Linked DNA regions of Homo sapiens: region 2 is linked to region 1. Evidence: promoter capture Hi-C in human tissues and cell types (Jung and others, 2019). All regions are on one chromosome and are shown on one strand. The core of a region is centred on a gene start or on the middle of the fragment in contact, and the rest is flanking DNA. Distances in the headings are between cores, read along the strand shown.

Region 1 (3,768 bases), core at 535-3,034:
AATAAAATAGGAATAGAAAAGGAAAACCAGGAAAAGAGGTGGTTTTCAACCAAATGAGGATTGGACAAAAAGAAAAAAAGAGAAAGAGAAAGAAAGAAGCGTCACAAACAAATCTGGCATTACTTCGTATTTAAAATCTTATGAAGAGTAAGGAGAATGTTGATGGGTGTGAATGAAATAGTGAGAATCAATTTAAAGAATATTCATTAGGCGCCCTACAGTGTGCCTGAAAATGTAGTGTGCACAGTGTATAAAATAAGAAATTGCTTCCTTAAAGTGGCTTATGTCTGGTTATAAAAATAAGATGAATGCAAAACCAGCTAGCAATGCTAGCTTTATGTAGCTTCACTCTGAGCCAGACATCATGTATTAGAAAACAAGGATAAGTAATAACAGCTCATGTTTAAAAGGGCTATGTGCCAGGTCCTATGCTGACCACTTTTCATAGATTATCTCAATTAATCTTCACATTAATCTTATGAGTAGATACTGTTGTCCCCATTTTTTCCAATGGGTATATTGAGACTTAAAAAGTTAAAATAACTTGCCCATTGTCAAATAACTGACCATGGAATTTGAACCAAAGTCATTTAATTCAAAATGAAGAAATTTAATCACGTAAACTACTGCTTCCCATAATTCTCAGCCTTGAGGAACTCAGTCTATGAAGGAATGATGGGTGCTTAATGACCATTTGTTGTATGAATGAATGACGTTCTTTGTGGCCGCTCATGTTTATTGTTTAGCTTTTTTTTTTTTTTTTTTTGAGATGGAGTTTCGCTCTTGTTGTTCAGGCTGGAGTGCAGTTGCATGATCTAGGCTCACTGCAACCGCTGCCTCTCGGGTTCAAGCAGTTCTCCTGCCTCTGCCTCCCGAGTAGCTGGGACTACAGGCGCACGCCACCACGCCCAGCTAATTTTTGTATTTTTAGTAGAGACGGGGTTTCACCCATGTTGGCCAGGCTGGTCTCGAACTCCTGACCTCAGGTGATCCGCCCGCCTCGGCCTTCCAAAGTGCTGGGATTACAGTCGTTACCACTGCGCCTGACCTAGACTGTTCAGGTTTAAGTTCCTAGGATACAAATATAAAACAGACTAGGGCCGATACTTTGCTGTTTTCAACACAGAAGTGGAAAGCATGATTTTACACTTCTGGAATAATTTAGAGTGACATCTGGTGGTTGCCTGTGAGACAAGAATTGTTGAAGAAACTGAATTTAAAAGCCTATAATAAATAAGACTACCAGACATAAAAAGATAAGAACGATGAATTAAAGTAGTAAAAAGTTTAAAAAACATATCTTAAATCCTCACTAAAGAAAAATTTTAAAAAATGCTAGTTGCAGATTTTCAATCCACTGGACTTTAAAAAGAAACAATAGATTCCTTAATGAGTAGTTGTAACGAAAATTGTAACAGTTAATTGATGGCAGGAAATACGAATTGATTTATACTGGTTTGAAGATTCTGGCTTGAGAGGAAATGCAACTTTACGGGGGAAGAAGACTCAAACGTTACAGGAACAATTTATTCACAAGGCAAAATATCTTCAACGTCTCTCCAAAACTTCAAGGGCATTATGGGTATCTGCCGAGATGGTAAAATGTCCAGTGGGCAGGAAATATTTCACCGGATCTCACTTGCCGGGGAAAAAAGCCAGTGAACGCGACCCACGCAGCTGACTAGATCGTGCGCTCGGCCTCAGATTGGTCGAGCCTGTTTGGGCTGCGGAAAAAGCGGAAGCGCGCTTTTCAAAGTCGTCCCACCATCAATGAAGGCAGGCCACTTCCGGCGTAGCCATGGCGGCTAACGCTACTACCAACCCGTCGCAGCTGCTGCCCTTAGGTAATCGCCGTCCTTTGGGGAGCAGGAACAGGGAGCTGACATTCAGGATTGGGGGCCGAGGGGCTGTTCCGAGGCAGGCCCTGGCCGAGTGTGGGGAAATGTATAAGACCAAATGCGGTTCGACTCTGAGCTCCAAGTCTTCGCGACAGCAGGCCGCACCTGCTCTTTAACGTGGTCGGGCTCCTCCAGGCAAGGACTTTGACTTCTCAAACCAGACCTTCACTGGAAAAGGTCCACATTTAGTGAACGCGTCGTCGGCCTACTTTGTTGTGAGCCCGCCTCTGCAGTGTTATAGGTAGTAGGCCTACTTCTCAGCCTGGCGTTTACGATCCCCAGATTAGATAGACCATGTTATGTATGTGGTTGGTTAGTGACACTAACACCCTGGTCCGGAATGAGCCTTAAATGAGGAATCTGGAAACCAGCTCTGTTTGTTATTTATTCATTCAATAAGTAGTAACTGAGTATCTATACACTAGATACCGTGCCTGGGCATTTTTCAATGATAAACCATAGCCATTGCCTTCAAATAGCACACAAGCCAGTGGAGGAGAGAACACTGGACAAGTAGACATCATGCCACATAATGCTAGGCTAGCTAAAGAGATGTTCAAGCTACCGTCAGAGCACAGAGGATAGACAGAGTTGGGAAAGGGAAGCAGTGACCGGAGAGTTTCCGGTGAATATAATTATACCTATCTCCTCTTATATTTTTGTAGTTGGTGAAGAGTGATTGAACTAGTGGTCGTGGCCGTGATTGAAAAGTTTTCATTCCTTCATGCCACAGACTCTTTTGGAAGGCTCATTATGTGCCAGATGCTGTGCTTGAACTGAGATTTGTATTATAAGACCTAAAGTTATTGAATGAATGTTTTTCCTGGTTTTTCTTTCACTATATGCAAGTAAGAGTGCCAGTAGGCACTCAAATATTTGTTGAAATAATGAATGGTAAAATAATATTTTTTCCCTCCTCAGAGCTTGTGGACAAATGTATAGGATCAAGAATTCACATCGTGATGAAGAGTGATAAGGAAATTGTTGGTACTCTTCTAGGATTTGATGACTTTGTCAGTATCCTTTTAAAAGGTGGTGGTGGTATAGGTTTTTCTTAAGTAATAACATAAGAACTATAGACAATCAGTATATTTGTGATTATTATAATAAAAATCAGTTCATTCTCAGGGAACTTATGATAATGTTTTAAGAGGTATGTATTGAAAGACGGTAAAGTTCCTATCAACAACAAGCATTTTGAATTTGAGCCATTGTATTAAACATTGTAATTAAAACTGAACAGGCGAGCCCAGTGGCTCACGCCTATAATCCCAGCGCTTTGGGAGGGCGAGGTGGGTGGATCGCTTGAGCCCAGGAGTTTGAGACCAGCCTGGGCAAGATGATGAAACCCTGTCTCCACAAAAATTACAAAAATTAGCTGGGCATGGTGATGTACACCTGTGGGTCCAGCTAATCTCCGGGGCTAAGGCAGGAGGATCCTTTAAGCCTAAAAGGTGGAGGCTGCAGTGAGGTGTGATTGTACCACTGCACTTAAGCCTGGATGACAGAGCGAGACTTTGTCTCAAAACAAAAACAAAAACAAAAAACAAAAGCTGAACAAAGGCAGAAGCTAGAGTAAATTCTGTATTTATTTTCTTAACACCAAATTTCAGATATGGTACTGGAAGATGTCACTGAGTTGTGAGTAGTGTTAAAGAATTGGGGGGAATCTCTTCTTAATTAAAGACAGTTTTACTACTTTTGAGTAAAATTATTTATGAGAAAACATTACCTCTTGGTGGAATAACGTTAAAGATAGACGTTTTATCTGTTTGCTTGTAAAATTGGATCAGAGTGTTATTACCTTAATGTAATTATTAGTAAACGCCTAGAATATTAGTGGAGACACAGTTTTAAGGTAGAAGATAAC
Region 2 (3,768 bases), core at 562-3,061, 650 kb before region 1:
ATGTGGTATACCCATACAATGGAATATTATGCAGCCTTAAAAAGGAAGGAAACTGACATCTGCTATGTAGATGAACCTTGAGGACATCATGTTAAGTAAAATAAGCCAGTCACAAAAAGACAAATACCATATGATTCCACTTATGTGAGGTACCTAGAATAGTCACAGAAACATTAAGAATGGTGATTGTCAGGGGCTAGGGAGAAAGGAGAACTGTTAATAGGTATATAGTGTTGACTTCGCAAGATGAGAAGTTCTGGAGATTGGTTGCACAATAATGTCAATTTACTTACCATTACTGAACTATATAGTTAAAAATGGTTAGATGTTCAATTTTATGTCACATTATTTTACCACAATTAAAAATAAAAAATATACAGTTTTAGTTTTTTACAAAAAGGAATACAGTAGACCACTTAGTACAATACCTGGCACATAATAAGCACTCAATAAGTGTTAGCCATTGCTCTGGTTTTGATCCCCTTTTATGATGTTTTAAACTTACATTAAAGAAAAAAACTCAGTGTTCTGGTTAAACACACTATGGTACATCTACACCATACCAATATAACTTGAGAATTTAGGCCAGGCGCGGTGGCTCACACCTGTAATCCCAGCACTTTGGGAGGCCGAGGCGGGCGGATCACGAGGTCAGGAGATCAAAACCATCTTGGCTAACACGGTGAAACCCCGTCTCTACTAAGAATACAAAAAATTAGCCGGGCGGGTAGTCCCAGTTACTCGGGAAGCTGAGGCAGGAGAATGGCATGAACCCGGGAGGCAGAGCTTGCAGTGAGCCGAGATAGCACCACTGCAGTCCGGCCTGGGCAAAAGAGCGAGACTCCATCTCGAGAAAAAAAAAAAGAATTTAAAACATAACTGACACTTGCAACTTGGATAGACTGCAAGAGCATTATGCTGAATGAAAAAAAAATCCAAAAAGCTAAAATATTAAATAATTACATTTCTAACTCTCAAAATGACAAAATCATACTAATGTAGAACAGATAGGTGGTTGCTAGGTTTACAGGAGGGTGTAACTATGAGGAGCTAATAATAAAAGGCAATTTCTTTGGGATTAATTTCTTAGAACTATCTACAAAAAAAAAGTGCATCTAACATAAAACCTGGTAAAATCCAAATCAAATCTATAGTTTAACTTTAGTATTATACTAACATCAATTTAATGGTGGGCTGGGCACGGTGGCTAACATCTATAATTAGCCTGGGCAACATAGGGAGACCCCATCTCTACAAGGAATAAAAAAATTAGATGGGCATAGTGGTCCATGCCTGTAGTCCCAACTACTGTCAGGAGTCTGAGGTGAGAGGATCAATTGAGCCCAGGAGTTCGAGGCTGCAGTGAGCTTTTTTGGGGAGTGAGGAATGGAGTCTTGCTCTGTCACCCAGGCTGGAGTATAGTGGCACAATCCCAACTCACTGCAACCTCTACCTCCCAAGTTCAGGCGATCTCCTGCCTCAGCCTCTCAAGTAGCTGGGATTACAGACACCTGCCAACACGCCCAGCTAATTTTTGTATTTTAGTAGAGATGGAGTTTCCCCATGTTGACCAGGCTGGTCTCCAACTCCTGACCTCAAGCAATCCACCCATCTCGGCCTCCCAAAGTGGTGGAATTATAGGCGTGAACCACCATGCCAGCCTGCAGTGAGCTTTGATCAAGACACAGCACTCCAGCCTATGTAACAGAGACCCAGTCTCTACGAAAAAAACAAATTTGATGGTTTTGATCACTGTACTGTTTTCATTGGGAAACCATTATTTTTGCAACTTCTAAGTGAGTCTAAAATTATTTCAAAATGATTAGTTTAAAAAAACAAATACCAGGAGAAAAAAGAAAGAAAATTCCATCCATAGTACTCTGCTTATGCTAAGAAAGAAGTTAGATAAACACTGGGAGTTGATGGAAGTGAACAAATATCTAACAGGTAAACAAATTTATCATGAGTTTCAAAATATGTGGGAGACTTTCTGAAAAATATTTGCACCATTTGTTATTACTAATGACATTATATAACCATACAAATTGTCAGATTACTAAATTTCAAATCTGGTAGCAAGCATTCAAAAAACATAATAATATCTGTATTACACTTTTATTGGATTTTTGAGAGGAAAGTAACAGTATTCAATAAATCCCATATATTCTCACTATATATGCCAAGTACCTAGGAGAATTGTAATATGCCATATTACTGGACTATGAGAATGAGGATACATCATTCACTTGCAGCTCAGAGCAAAATATTACCCAAATTCACACTTGAAATGCCAATGATTCCCTAGGAGGACTCACAGGACACAGCATAGTCATCTTCATGGCTATGAAGGATGGCTACGATAAAAGGATGAAAAGCATAATCAGGAAAGGGAAAAGGTGCATGATGGGATATCTGAAGAAAACCAGACACAAGCTTAGAAGACAAAGGAGTGGTACAGAGGTTAAGAAGAGGAGGAATCCGGCTGGGTGCGGTGGCTCATGCCTGTAATCCCAGCACTTTGGGAGGCCGAGGCAGGCAGATCACGAGGTCAGGAGATCGAGACCATCCTGGCTAACACGGTGAAACCCCATCTCTACTAAAAATACAAAAAATTAGCCGGGTGTGGTGGCGGGTGCCTGTAGTCCCAGCTACTCGGGAGGCTGAGGCAGGAGAACGGCATGAACCAGGAGGTGGAGCTTGCAGTGAGCCAAGATCACGCCACTGCACTTCAGCCTGGGTGACAGAGTGAGACTCCATCTCCAAAAAAAAGAAAAAGAAGAGGAATCTACCAGAAGCTTAACAGGGGCATTCACTGAGATCAAAACAAAGCCAGAAGTGAGTTATCTCGAAGGAAGTGGAAAAAAAAAATGTATCTAGAAAAAGGGAGTGACCAACTGTATCAAGTGCTCCTGATACACCATAAAGGATGAAGACTTGGAGGCATAAGCTCTATTGGGAGACATAGCTAAGGACAGAAATTAGTAGTAACCAACCAAAGAGTAAGTGATCCTCTGCTCACTCCTGCATCAGCCGGTTCAAAAGTCTCAAGGAGAGAAAATAAGAAAGTAAGAACTATACAACACTCAAAGGGGGTCTTACCTTTGCCTAACACAGACAGAAAAGAAAACTTCATGGGGCCTGCCTAGAGAACATACTAAACCAAGTAAAGGAGAAAGAGAAGAGATTTTTCTGTCAATGATAATGAATGATACATTTTTAAAAAGTCAAAATCCTCAGATAAGTGACCACAAGAGACAAAGCTGGAGTTTGAATATAAATACTGCATCAAGTCAAAGTAGCTATCCTATGAAAATGGCCTTAAAAACCTGTGAGTCAATAAATTTTTTCAGCTTGCTAGAATGAATACAAAAAATCCTCCAATATTATGATCTAGTGGGCTGTTAAAATAAAAAAGACAAAAAAAGAATCAAAAGAATCCTCCAATATGAAAGAACTTTCCAACAATGTCTACAAATAGGAATGCCTATAGAAGACATTCATTTCTCATTAACTTGTTTTTTTGTTTTGTTTTGTTTTTTGTTTTTGTTTTTGAGACAGAGTTTCACTCTTGTTGCCCAGGCTGGAGTGCAATGGCACAATCTCAGCTCACCGCAACCTCCACTTCCTGGGTTCAAGCAATTCTCCTGCCTCAGCCTCCTGAATAGCTGGTATTACAGGCATGCGCCACCACGCCCAGCTAATTTTGTATTTTTAGTAGAGACGGGGTTTCTCCATGTTGGTCAGGCTGGTCTTGAACTCCTGAACTTA

The links. Contacts are between HindIII fragments. The study calls those that stand out against the background at their distance.
Region 2: a contact is called between a fragment that was not itself captured here and the fragment with the promoter of LSM5 in region 1, in 1 of the 25 tissues and cell types used here (spleen).

The regions. Positions count from the first base shown.
Region 1 is chr7:32,488,396-32,492,163 of GRCh38, reverse strand. LSM5 (LSM5 homolog, U6 small nuclear RNA and mRNA degradation associated) reads left to right here and starts at 1,784. Exons shown (of 5, transcript NM_012322.3): 1 at 1,784-1,844; 2 at 2,820-2,915; 3 at 3,512-3,539. The coding sequence starts at 1,799. RefSeq lists an enhancer at 1,832-1,881. The HindIII fragment of the contact is 28,883 bases long and covers 1-3,768 here.
Region 2 is chr7:33,139,036-33,142,803 of GRCh38, reverse strand. The region is part of intron 1 of BBS9 (Bardet-Biedl syndrome 9); the gene reads right to left. Among named protein-coding and RNA genes, the nearest start is that of BBS9, 11 kb to the right of the region's middle. The HindIII fragment of the contact is 3,484 bases long and covers 70-3,553 here.